3 separate regions of the Homo sapiens genome follow, and all the other regions are linked to region 1. Evidence: promoter capture Hi-C in human tissues and cell types (Jung and others, 2019). All regions are on one chromosome and are shown on one strand. The core of a region is centred on a gene start or on the middle of the fragment in contact, and the rest is flanking DNA. Distances in the headings are between cores, read along the strand shown. Region 1 holds the start of SPOCD1 (SPOC domain containing 1). Region 2 has its middle 25 kb from the start of TMEM39B. Region 3 holds the start of KHDRBS1 (KH RNA binding domain containing, signal transduction associated 1).

The links. The method cuts DNA at HindIII sites, captures the fragments that hold promoters and counts their contacts. A contact is called where the count stands out against the background at its distance.
Region 2: a contact is called between a fragment that was not itself captured here and the fragment with the promoter of SPOCD1 in region 1, in 1 of the 25 tissues and cell types used here (liver).
Region 3: a contact is called between the fragment with the promoter of KHDRBS1 here and the fragment with the promoter of SPOCD1 in region 1, in 6 of the 25 tissues and cell types used here (IMR-90 fibroblasts, hippocampus, mesenchymal stem cells and 3 more).

What each region holds. Positions count from the first base shown.
Region 1 is chr1:31,814,076-31,818,579 of GRCh38, reverse strand. SPOCD1 (SPOC domain containing 1) reads left to right here and starts at 2,558. Exons shown (of 16, transcript NM_144569.7): 1 at 2,558-2,619; 2 at 3,208-4,504. The coding sequence starts at 3,247. The HindIII fragment of the contact is 15,941 bases long and covers 1-4,504 here.
Region 2 is chr1:32,045,598-32,050,101 of GRCh38, reverse strand. It overlaps a transcript of KHDRBS1 not described here. Among named protein-coding and RNA genes, the nearest start is that of TMEM39B, 25 kb to the left of the region's middle. The HindIII fragment of the contact is 3,894 bases long and covers 233-4,126 here.
Region 3 is chr1:32,011,925-32,016,428 of GRCh38, reverse strand. It overlaps KHDRBS1 (KH RNA binding domain containing, signal transduction associated 1), which reads right to left and starts at 2,561. Exons shown (of 9, transcript NM_006559.3): 1 at 2,052-2,561. The coding sequence starts at 2,433. RefSeq lists silencers at 1,553-1,662, 2,143-2,352 and an enhancer at 1,756-2,326. The HindIII fragment of the contact is 12,423 bases long and covers 1-4,504 here.

The sequences.
Region 1 (4,504 bases), core at 1,309-3,808:
GAATGGCTTGGTTCACTGGTCTTAGGGAACCTGGTCAACTTTCTGCCATCATGACCAAGACATTCCTTAGAGGGAGGGCTTCTCATTTACAAAAACTATTTCCTTAGAGCAGTAATTTTGGTCATTGGTGACATCCAGTCTCTACTCTTACCTCATCTATGACTCTGACTGCCAGATCATGACAGTTTTCAATATGGATTACCCAATAGCTTGGTTTGTTTTTTGTAATAAACCTTGTTTTTTAGAATAGTTTTAGATCTACAGAAAAATCTGAAGATTAGTACAGGGAGTTCCTGTGTACTCCAGACTCGGTTTCCCTTGTTATTCATATTATGCTGTTTTTAAAATTCCACATTATATCATTGAGATACATTCATGTTGATATATAGATCTAATTTATTGAGTCTAACTGTGATTTAGTATTCCATTGGCCTGGAAGGTTCTCACAGTCTCACCTGGCACAGGTTTAGTGCCAGGGAATTCCATCTCCCTCGCAATCAGACTTATCAAATCTCTGGTTCTGGCCGGGTGCAGTGGCTCACGCCTGAAATCCCAGGCCAAGATGGGAGGATCGCTTGAGCTCAGGAGTTCGAGACCAGTCTGGGCCACATAGTGAGACCTCGTCTCCACCAAAAATAAAAAAAAAATTAGCTGGGCATGGCGGTGCATGCCTGTAGTACCAGCGACTCAGGAGGCTGAGAGGGGAATATCACTTGAGCCTGGGAGGTCAAAGCTGCAGTGAGCTATGATTACACTACCACAACTCAGCCTGAGCGACAGAGCCAGACCCTATCTCAAAAAAAAAAAAAAAAAAAAAAAAAGCCAAACACCACTGTTTCTGCAGTAAAAGTATTTACATAATCATAACATTATAAATGTCATTTGGCTTTCAGTGTTAAGAATCAATCTACAGGTAAACAACGGTAAACTGAATTATCTTTACCGAATAGAATGTAAATGCTATAAACCTCAGCGATACAAAAATAAAAGCTTAGTTCATGGATAACGGCAGAAGCAGGGAGGGGACATCAAGGGAAATTATCCATTTCACACAGAGAAGAGTCAAGAGATACAATATACAGAAGAAACAGACATTTAAGAATAGTATTCAAAGTGATAATAGAAACCAATAGTAAAATTTAAAATATAAATATAAAAAAGAGGGCCAGGCACGGTGGCTAACGCCTGTAATCCCAGCAATTTGGGAGGCTGAGGTGGGTGGAACACGAGGTCAGGAGTTTGAGACCAGCTTGGCCAGCATGGTGAAACCCTGTCTCCACGAAAAATACAAAAATTAGCAGGGCATGGTGGCACGTGCCTGTAGTCCCAGCTACTCGGGAGGGTGAGGTAGGAGAATCACTTGACCCTGGGAGGCAGAGGTTGTAGTGAGCTGAGACTGTGCCACTGCACTCCAGCGTGGGCGACAGAGCGAGACGCTGTTTCAAAAAAAAAAAAAAAATATATATATATATATATATATGAAAAGCGGAAGAGAAAGGGGGAAAGGGTGGTTAATAAAATCACCACAGCAGGAAGTCAACAGATACAACAGACACAGTTAAAATTAATAAATCAAGTAATAGAGGCATGAGTATATTATTTACAGTTATGAAATTTAAAAAATTAACATGATGACAAACATGGTAAAAAACAAAAAACAAAACACAGTTGTTTCCAGGAGTTGGGGTATTGGGAAATGAGAGATAGCTTTAAACTTTTTATTTCTAACCTTCTATTGGAATTGATTCTGCATTTCCATCTACATTAATTATATTTGAGATTTTCTTTTTAAATTAGGCAAGCACTATTCACAATAGCAAAGACATGGAATCAACCTAAATGCCCATCAATGGCAGATTGGCTAAAGAAAATGTGGTACATATACACAATGGAATACTATGCAGCCATAAAAAAGAATGAGATCACGTCCTTTGCAGGAACGTGGATGGAGCTGGAGGCCATTATCCTTAGCAAACTAATGCAGGAACGGAAAAACCAAATATTGCATGTTCTCACTTATAAGTGGGAGCTAAATGGTGAGAACACATGGACAGAAAGAGGTTAACAACAGACACTGGGGCCTGCTTGAGGGTGGAGGGTAGGAGGCAGTAGAAGATAAGAAAAAATAAATATTGGGTACTAGGCTTGATAACTGGGTGACGAAATAATCTGTACAACAACCCCCGTGACACAAGTTTACCTATATTAAAAACCTGCATATGGACCTCTGACCCTAAAATAAAAGTTTAAAAATAAAATAAAATAAAATTAGGCAAAAAATCTAGGTAATTCTGACATTGTCCTACTGGCTCAGGGACTATTGCGGTAGGATCAAGTTAAACTCTCAGGCAGGCAGCCAAGGCCCCTCGCTGCCCCATGCACCCACCTACCTCTGCTTGGGAGCCAGGATTGGCACCTCCTCCAGGAAGCCCTCAGGAGGAAGAGGGCGCCCTCTGCCGGGGCAGGAACGCCAGCACGCCTGGGGAGCAGCCTTTTGCTCATCATCAGGGACTCCGCCCCTATCCCTCAGCAAGGGCCTCCCTCCCCCGCATCACGTGATCTCAGCTCCTTTTCAGCTAGTGGGTGGAACCCCAGGAGGGAAAACTCAGGGAAGCCCAGGTGAGAGCGACGCGACCGATGGGGCCCGGATTTCTTGGATGCTGGGGGACTGTCCCAGTAAGGCTTGGGAACCTGGGTGGGGCGCCTTTCAGAACGGGACCGATGGGAGAGAGACGAGAAGGGTTATGGGCACGAACCCCGTTCAGTATCTGCTCCTTGCGCAGTGTGAGAACTGGGAGAGAGACTCCTGGCCCTTCCACTTCCTGTGCTTCCTTGGGTGAGTGTCTTAACATCTCAGAATCTCAGTGTCCTCACCTGTGGCTGCCAGTATGAAATGAAATAAGCACATAAGTCATAAATAAATGGTATCTTATTAGGTCCCATTTAAGCGAATGTGTGAACTCTCAGAGACAAGAAGACCCTGGAGGCCACTGTAGCTCGGCCCTGTTTGGAGGCAGGCCTCTCCACCCTCACCCAGGACACCAGCTCCTGCTGGGTGCTCCCCTCCCTGGAGTGCTCACCCCTAGGCCTCAGGAGTGGAAGGGTCTGGGAGAGCTGGCTGGAAGAGGGGCTCCTCCCAGTTCCCACTGAACGGGCTGACAGGTCGGACTCTCCAAGACAAAGTCTCCTCTTTCTGTCTCCACACAGGGCCCGTGTTGTGCTTTTGGCCCAGGTAGGTGGACAGACATGTCCCAGGCGGGGGACGTAGAAGGCCCCAGCACAGGAGACCCTGTGCTCAGTCCCCAACACAACTGTGAGCTTTTACAGAACATGGAAGGAGCCAGCTCCATGCCAGGCCTGTCACCAGATGGGCCGGGAGCAAGCTCTGGGCCCGGAGTCAGGGCTGGCAGCAGAAGGAAGATCCCCAGGAAGGAGGCCCTTCGAGGTGGCAGCTCCCGGGCTGCAGGTGCTGCTGAGGTCCGGCCAGGGGTCTTGGAGCTGCTAGCTGTGGTACAGAGCCGGGGCTCGATGCTGGCTCCTGGGCTCCACATGCAGCTGCCCTCGGTGCCTACTCAGGGGAGAGCTCTGACCTCCAAGAGGCTCCAGGTTTCTCTGTGTGACATCTTAGATGACAGTTGCCCCAGGAAACTTTGTAGCAGGTCTGCTGGCCTCCCAGAGAGAGCTCTGGCCTGCAGGGAGAGGCTTGCAGGAGTGGAGGAGGTGAGCTGCCTCAGGCCCAGGGAGGCCAGAGACGGTGGAATGAGTTCTCCAGGGTGTGACAGAAGAAGCCCCACACTCAGCAAAGAGGAGCCCCCTGGAAGGCCCCTGACATCCTCACCAGACCCAGTCCCTGTGAGGGTAAGAAAGAAATGGAGGAGGCAAGGGGCTCATTCAGAGTGTGAGGAAGGGGCTGGTGACTTCCTGTGGCTTGATCAGAGCCCTCGTGGGGACAACCTCCTGTCTGTGGGAGACCCTCCCCAAGTTGCTGACCTGGAGTCCTTGGGAGGCCCTTGCAGACCTCCCTCTCCAAAAGACACTGGGTCTGGGCCTGGAGAGCCAGGTGGAAGTGGGGCAGGATGTGCCTCAGGGACTGAGAAATTTGGATATTTGCCCGCTACAGGGGATGGGCCCCAGCCAGGCAGCCCCTGTGGCCCTGTCGGGTTCCCAGTGCCCAGTGGAGGGGAGTCCCTCAGTTCAGCTGCACAGGCTCCTCCACAGAGCGCAGCACTGTGCCTGGGGGCGTCAGCACAGGCCTCTGCAGAGCAGCAAGAAGCTGTGTGTGTCGTGCGGACTGGCAGCGATGAAGGCCAGGCTCCAGCACAGGACCAGGAGGAGCTGGAGGCCAAGGCTCAGCCAGCTTCCAGGGGAAGGCTGGAGCAAGGACTCGCTGCCCCCGCTGACACCTGTGCCAGCTCCCGGGAGCCCTTGGGCGGCCTCAGCTCCTCCCTGGATACTGAAGCCAGCAGGGCCTGCTCAGGCCCATTCATGGAGCAGAGAAGATCCA
Region 2 (4,504 bases), core at 930-3,429, 230 kb before region 1:
ACTTCACACCCACTAAAGATAGCTATAATAAAGTAAATGTTGGTGAGGATATGGAGCATTTGGAACCCTCATATGTTGCTGGTAGGAATGGTACAGGCTCTCTGCAGAAAACAATTTGGCAGTTCCTAAAAAAATTAAACAGGCCGGGCGTGGTGGCTCATGCCTGTAATCCCAGCACTTTGGGAGGCTGAGGCAGGTGGATCATGAGGTCAGGAGATCGAGACCATCCTGGCTAACACGGTGAAACCCCGTCTCTACTAAAAATACAAAGAATTAGCCGGGTGTGGTGGCACGTGCCTATATTCCCAGCTGCTTGGGAGGCTGAGGCAGGAGAATCACTTGAACCCAGGAGGCGGAGGTTGCAGTGAGCTGAGATCGTGCCACTGCACTCCAGCCTGGGCGACAGAGTGAGACTCTGTCTCAAAAAAAAAAAAATAAAAAATAAAAAAATAAACAGAGTCACCGTATGACCCAGAACCCAGAAATTCTTCTAGGTATATACCCAAGAAACTGAAAACATGTCCACACAAAAACTTATATACAAATATTCAAAGCAGTATTATTCATAATAGCCAAAAAGTAGAAATAATCCAAATGCCTGTCAATGGATCAATGAATAAATGAAACGTAGTATATGCATACAGTGAAATCGCATTTAACAGTAAAAAAAAAAAAAAGAACAAAGTAGGGATACATGCTACAACATGGATGAACCTTGAAAACATCCGAAGTGAAAGGAGGCCAGTCAGCTGAGCGTGATGGCTCACGTCTGTAATCCCAAACTTTGGAAGGCCAAGGTAGGCGGATCACCTGAAGTCACGAGTTCGAGACCAGCCTGGCCAACACGGTGAAACCCCACCTCTACCAAAAATACAAAAATTAGCCAGGCATGGAGGCGCGTGCCTATAATCCCAGCTACTCAGGAAGGCAGGAGAATCGCTTGAACCTGGGAGGCGGAGGTTGCAGTTGCAGTGAGCTGAGATCGCACCACTGCACTCCAACCTGAGCGACAGAGCAACACCCCGTCTCAAAAAAAAACCAAAAAAACAAAAAAAAAACAAAAAGGAAGCCAGTCACAGAAGACCACTTATTGTATAATTTCATTTGTATGAAATCATACAGAAAGTGGTCTTCTGTGACTGGCTAAACCCTTGGACTTAGCCTTCTGGAGGCTAAACCCTTGTCATCTTTAGAGACAGAAAGCAGAGTAGTAGCCTACGGCTGGAGGGAATAAATAGATTGGTGGAAGACAGATAAAAGGCATGGGGTTTCTTTTTGGAATGATAAAGACATTTTAAATGGGCCCTAGTGATGACTGAACAACTCTGTATATACTAAAAACCACTGAATTATACACTTTAAGTGAGAGAACAGTATGGTATGTGAATTATATCTCAATAAAGTTGTTATTTTAAAATTCCGCCAAAACTCTAGACTTCTTTGCCACTAGGACAGTTATGTCTGTCCAAAAAGAATCACTTAAAAATGCTAACATGACCTTTAATTTATACTAACAGAAGCTAACCACAGGCTGCAAACTGGTAAGCTAAAGGCCACATCTGGCATGCAGCAAATGTATTTTATTGGGACCAATAGTATTTTAAAAACTTTCTACCCGGGCTGGAGTACAGTGTTGTGATCATAGCATACTGTAACCTTGAACTCCTCGACTCAAGTGATCCTCCTTCCCCTGCCTCCTGAGTAGCTAGGATAAGAGGTGCAAGCCATCATGCCCAGCTAATGCCCAGCTAACTTTTTGTAGAGACAGAGTCTGCTATGTTGTCCCGGCTTGTCTTGAACTCCTGGCCTCAAGTGATCCTCCCAACTCAGCCTCCCCAGGTGTTGGGATTACAGGCATGAGCTGCCATGCGCAGCCAAGAAAATTTTTAGAGAAGGGAAAGACACAGTAATGAAAATGATCTTCAAATACCTGAAAGGATGTTGCTTCAGAGGTCCAAAGCAGATTCAGTTTAAATTACTGAGGTACAGGTCTCATTCAAAATGAGAGATAAAATACTTAGAGCCATCTCTAATGAAATGGGCTGCTTTTGGAAGTAATGTTTCCTATGACTAGTATGAAGTACTATGTTACATGCTATAACCTGGATGAACCAAACACTATGCAAAGTCAAAGAAGCCAATTCCAAAAAGCATATATTATATGATTCCATTTATATGGAATGTTCAGAATAGGCAAACCCACAGAAAGAGTAGTGGCTGCCAACAGCTGGGGAGAGAAGGGAGTTGGGAGTGACTATTAGCAGATATAAGATTTGTTTTTAGAGTGATGGAAATATTCTGGAATTAAATAGTGGAAATGGTTGCACAGTATAAATATACTAAAAACTACTGCATTGTACACTTTAAAATTGTAAATTTTATGCTATGTGAATTTTTCCTCAAAACAGAAACAAAGGTAGAAAGGGACCAAATGAGATACTTACTAACTCTGTTAGGATATTATGATGCATACAGTGATAAATGTCAGGTATTATCATCAACTTCATTTGATGATAAATGAGGCACTGAAAGGGTTTTGTTTCTGACTAAGGTGACAAAGGCTCACATGAAGCAGAGCCAGGACAGATACCCAATCTTGCCTGTCTCTAAAGCTTACAGAATTGTAATAAAAGTTCACAGGCTGGCCGGGTACAGTGGCTCACGCCTGTGATCCTAGCACTTTGGGAGGCTGAGGTGGGCGGATCACTTGAAGCCAGGAGTTCAAGACTAGCCTGGCCAACATGGTGAAACCACATCTCTACTAAAAATACAAAAATTATCCAGGCGTGGTGGTGTGTGCCTATAATCCCAGCTACTCCGGAGGCTGAGGCAGGGGAATCGCTTGAACCCGGGAGGTGGAGGTCGCAGTAAGCTGAAATCACACCACTGCACTCCAGCCTGGGCAACAGAGTGAGACTCCACCTTAAAATAAATAAATAAAGTTCACAGGTAGTGAGTGATAGAATTTTACAGAAAACACTTGGATCAATGGGCGAAGCTACATGTCCAGAACAGGCAGAACACCAGCAGGCCTAGGTCCACAAACAGAACCTGCCTTTCCAAGCACAGTTCACAGTCCAAATGAAAGGTTTCCCCAAACTTCTAATCCATTTTTCTTCTTCAGACTACCCTAGGAAGAGTTGAGACTAAATTCTCTGCATTCAGGGATTCCCCACGCTAAATTTCCTAGCCATTCATGTGACCAACATCAAACGTAGGACTTGCCAGGTGCCCAGAATCTTGTTCAGTACATATGCCCCTCTCTTAAAGCTTCCAGATCTCTCACAGGCTGAGAGGCAGGCTTGGAAGAAAAAGAAATTCCAAGAAGCCAAATTTCACTGTGAAAGGTTCTATATGCGTAGGGCTTACCTAGTTAGGCCTTTCTCCTCAGTGTCATCCTAATCCTAACACCTCAGAGCAGAGAAAAAATCAGCCAGTTAGTTGCTTAATGGCTTCAATTAACAGGAAAGCTCACTGTTGTCACAGCCCCCAACTACACAAACCAGGGAGTCAAACTCCACATCCTTTCTTCTATACCACAATTATCCCTATGAAGGACCTCCTAAGTATAAGAAATATCCTTTCCCAGCCGGGTGTGGTGGCTCACGCCTGTAATCTCAGCACTTTGGGAGGCCAAGGTGGGTGGATCACCTGAGGTCAGGAGTTCGAGACCAGCCTGACCAATAAGGTGAAACCTCGTCTCTACTAAACAATACAAAAATTAGCCAGGCGTGGTGGCAGGTGCCTGTAGTCCCAGGTACTCGGGAGGCTGAGACAGGAGAATTGCTTGAACCCAGAGGCGGAGGTTGCAGTGAGCTGAGATTGCGCCACTGCAGCCAAGCCTGGGTAATGGAGCAGGGCTCCGTCTCAAAAAAAACAAAACAAAAGAAAACCAAAAAAACCAAAAAAAAAAAAGAAATACCCTTTCCCTAGATTAAGGACAGTATAGTATAGGATTAAGATGACAGGTTTTGGCAACAGAAATCTTGAGCTTGAGTACCAGCCATACTAATTATGGGACCCTGGGAAGTTACTTAACTTCACTAGGTCTAAGTTACTTCTGTAAAATATGGATATTACTGGACAATTGTTTCTGGGCTGCCCAGCATCCATTTCCCTTTCCTAACAACTCACCAACTGCCTTTTGAGGAACTGGTTTTTCTTACGCATGTGACTCAGCTAATCCAGTCTGATATTCCCTCTCTAAAACCTGAATCTTGAGTAGAGGCAGAAAGAGACCCAACATAGTTTGAGTTGTGCCCAAGGAGCCAGTCCTTGTTTCAAGATCGTTCCTGTGGTCTACCACTGTTGTCCCAGTTCCCTGCAGCCACTACAGTTCCCACACCAGATTTTTTATCCTTCGCACTGAACATTGAGCCCTTAACACCTTTCTAATAAAGTCTTTTTCATTTACATTAGCCACTTTGTTGCTTGCAACCAATGAACTCCAAGTGGAACACCACCTCATCAGGTTATTAACAGGATAAACAGAGTGGGATTCAAC
Region 3 (4,504 bases), core at 1,312-3,811, 200 kb before region 1:
AACGGGGAAGGTGTGTAGACTGACCAAAAATCCTGGTTACGATGCTTACTAATTTTGTTACCTTAGGCAAATTATTAATCTCTGGGTGTCTTGGTTTCCTCATCTGTATAAGTGAGGATAATAAAAGTAAGTTCTCATTTCATTTTATAGGTTAAATATTTAATGTAAAGTGCTCAGACCTCAAACATTAAGTGTTAGCTATATTTTTCTTCCGTGTGTTCTTTTCTTTTTTTTTTTTTTTTCCTTTTTTGAGATGGAGTTTAGCTCTTGTTGCCCAGGCTGGAGTGTAATGGCGCAATCTGGGCTCCCTGCAACCTTCGCTTCCCAGGTTCAAGTGATTTTCCTGCCTCAGCTTCCAAAGTAGCTGGGATCACAGGCGTGCGCCACCACGCGAAGCTAATTTTGTATTTTTAGTAGAGACGGGGTTTCACCATGTTGATCAGGCTGGTCTCCAACTCCTGACCTCGCGATCAGCCCGTCTCGGCCTCCCAAAGTGCTGGGATTACAGGCGTGAGCCACCGCGCCTGCCCCTTCCATGTGATCTTACCAGAGCTTAAATACTACTATTCTATCTTCTCAAAGTCTCACTTCCGCACAATGGGTTGTGACTTCACTGCAATCCCCTTGCAAGATAATTCAGAAATACCTTAAAAGCCAGGCTCAACATATATTAACACTTATCCATGCTAGAAAGAATTCATACATCCCAAACCAACAGTAACCTCAATCACATTTCTCCAATTTCAGTTGGGTTTAAAAAAAATACATCCAGAAAGCCCAAGTTAAAAATAAAGAGCACTCTCTTAGTTAAGCAGTGAGGGGAGACTGAAAATTAAAAGTAACTTTTAAGGATCAACAGTTTTTGACAGTTATCTTAAGAAAGCATAAAAGATGAACACCACACTGGTAAAGATCCCTTACCTTACAGTGTTGGGAGACAGAGAACAAAGGGAGGGAGATAATATTTTCATAATGAACTGTCCATTATATTAACCTTGCCAAAGAGTCCAACTACTCATTCAGTGTTGAAGGATGTGAATTTTTACTTGCTTAGTAAAATTTAGGTATCATAAAAAATATTAAAATAATATTTTAACTAGAAGCGAAAGTCAGACAGCTTTAGGGAAAAATCAGAGCGACTAGGTGATTGGCCAGTGCTGATGAGGAAAAGAGCGCTAACCTACAGAACAAAGACTCTCATTTCTAATCTATTTCACTACTGAATCAAAAATGTAAAAAACAGCAACAAAAAGGCCAAGCCTTTCAGTACAAGCATCATGCAACTTCTCTCAATTTCTGTCCATCTCGTTGGGAAACGTCATGTGAACTACGCGGGAGTCCCTATCGTCCCATTTCACTGTCTCTAGGGTTACTTCACTCCTTCAACGACAGTGAACACACGGTGTAAAATGGCTCAGTAGCAATTCTTATTTTATCAGCCTTAGTCGGAAATCTGATTCGGAAACCTCAAGCTCCGATCCACATAAATCGCTCCTTCCTCCCAGCAACTTAAGCTGCGGTTACCGCTAAGTCCGGCTCGGCCCCAGCGACAGCAAGGCACTGGACAGGGCATTCCAGCCTCACCCCACCTCACCTCGGCCCTTCCTCCCACGGTCCCTCCCCGCTCTGGCTGTCTTCACCTCCTACACCTCGGTCGAGGCGCTCATCGCCACCCGCGATCAAAAAGGGTTTCCCTTCAGGGAAAGGGGGAAATGAAGGTTCATTTCTGGAAGAATCTGCGCGCCCGGCAGCCGCAAGAGGAGGGAGGAGGGAAGAGTCGGGAAAGGGGCGGGGAGCTCAGCACTATCCATCAAGACATTAGCGCTAGGGGATCGCAAAGTCGCCTTCGGGCCTCCACTGCAGCCTAGAAATTCTCCCACGCACTCCGGGCTGAGGTGGGAATGTGGAATCCAGGCTCCCAAAAATGAGGATGAGACCGGAACTCCCGACTGCCTCGGTCCCGAGGGGGCGGGAAGCGAGAGGAACAAAGCCAGGGCCACTCATGCCCGGGATGGCCGGGCGACCCAGAGGGACACGGGAGGCCCCCTTACCTGCCGTCAGCAGCTGCATGGCGTGAGTGAAGGACGGGTCGAGCGAGTCCTTCTCGGCCATGAGTTCGGGCAGGTACTTGTTCTCTGGCTCCATCTTGACCGAGGCTGTGGCCGAGGGGGGCAGCAGCGGGGTCGGCGCTGGCCCGCCCACTGTCGCGTCGGGACCCGTGGCCGAGGGCGGCAGCAGCGGTGGCGGCTGCGTGGCGGGCGAGGCCCGGGCGCCCCCGCGGGATCCCCCTCCGCCTCCCCGGGACCGGTGAGGCAGCGGCGGCTGCCGAGACGGCGTCTGACGCACCGAGGGGTGGGCACCGGAGGGGTCCATGGAGCCGCTACGGCCCGAAGACCGGCTCATGCGCGCGGCGGGGTCGTCCCGGCGCTGCATCTGGGAGGATGTGCGATCCAAGGAGCGAGAAAGCGACGCGGCAGCGACGGAGGCCCGAGCGGCGGTTGGCGGGGGTGGCAGAGCGGGAGCGGTAGCGACCGAAGCCGACCCGAGCGACCCAGCGAGAGAGAGCACCGGAAATGAGGCGGCGCGCGTGCGCAGCCAGCCACCGGCACCGCCCTTGGGTTTCTCCGCGGAGAACAAAGTCCCCAGTCCGGCCACGGCGCCTGCGCACCGCCGCGGCGTCCGAGAAGTCGCCTCCCGACTCTGGCTTTCCCTCCGCTCCCGCCAGGCCAGAGCTTGATGCGCATGCGCGGGAGGCAGTGGGCTCCGTTCGTTTCGTTTTCCACGTGACTCGGCGCTAGCGGAACACGTGTCTCCTCCCCTTTCTGGCGTGGAGGGGGCGGGAGCTGTGGAATGTCTTTGTCTGCGCGCGGGCCCGCGGAGTGTGGGGCGGGAGACCTGTTACTCGCGGGGCCACGCCCTCTCCAACGGCTGAGCAGTGGAGGGAGGCTGTGGGGAGTGGGGTGGGGGGCGGTCACCGAAGTAAGGAAGTAAAAGACTGCCGAGAGGGTCACGGAAAGGGGAGGGAGAGAGAATTGAGACCGCCTGGGGAGGAAGACAGGAGTGAGACAGACTGCACAGGGAGAAAGGAAGGCTGAGGGAGAGTCTGATGCAGGGGGAAAGTTGGGGAAGGGAAACCTGGAGGGAGAAATTGAGGAAGGACGGCTTGGTGGAAACACTGAAGGCGATTGGAGTACTTGAACTAAGAGGGATGGTTCAGATCAGAGATCTGAAGTCTAGCAAAGAAAAGGGTCCCAGACATCAGGGAACACAAGAAGTTGTTTCCAGTATATATATTTCCAGTATTACATATATTCCAGTCGGTTCTAAAACGGTTGACATTGTTGGTACGGGAAATCTTAAGCAGCATTTTAGCTCTTTTTACATATTTTACTGCTTTTTCTGAATTGTGTTTGTTTTGTTTCGCCGTCATTATTGCCAATTAAGTGTTTCTTCCTTCAAAAAGTGAGGTAGAGACCAGATCCTTAATCCACGTTGGTTGCATCATTAGGATGGCTTCTTCTACCACTCCAGACTTGCTCAAAGAGACCCTTGCCACTACTCTCAAAGGCAAGGTACATAGTGGACAGTCGCCTACGACGTTCTCCACATCCTGGTGTGCTATATGCAAGTGGAGCCTTAGGTCCCTACTTGTCCCATAAGCCATCAAAAGCCTGGTGCCCTCTCTAACTTTCCCTTCCCTCCGCAGATTATTTTCTTCTTCCATTTAAAGCACTCACTCCCATCTCTTTTCCTTCTGGATTAGTTCTCCTAATGAGCCCACACTTTTCAAAAGTCTTTGGGGACCGGTGCGGTGGCTTATGCCTGTAATCCCAGCACTTTGGGAGGCCTAGGTGGGAGGATTACTTGAGGCTAGGAGTTCGAGAGCAGCCTGGACAATATAATGAGACCTCATCTCTACAATAAAAAAAGTTTCCGCCCGGCTTGGTGGCTCATGCCTGTGATCCCAACACTTTGGGAGGCCGAGGTGGGCAAATCACCTGAGGCCAGGAGTTCGAGACCAACTTGGCCAACATGATGAAACCCCATCTTTACTAAAAATATAAAAATTAGCCGGGTGTGGTGGTGCATACCTGTAATCCCAGCTACTTGGGAGGCTGAGGCAGGAGAATTGCTTGAACCAGGGACGCGGAGGCTGCCGTGAGCCGAGATCACGCCACTGCACTCCAGCCTGGGCAACAGAGCGAGACTACGTCTCAAAAAAAAAAAAAAAGGAAAAAAAGGTTTATTTGGAAATTGTCTTCTGAGTGCCTGGAAACTTGATTTTTGGATGTGAAGCTTAGAACCCTTTAACTAGAGAACCTAAAGGCCTTCTTTAAGGGGTTAAGGGAGAGGATTTCCAAATTACCCACAGAAATGAAAACAAAACACGTATCTACATAAATTATATATATATAATATAAAATATAGGCCAGATGCGATGGCTCATGCTTGTAATCCCAGCACTTTGGGAAACCGAGGCGGGCAGATCACAAGGTCAAGAGAT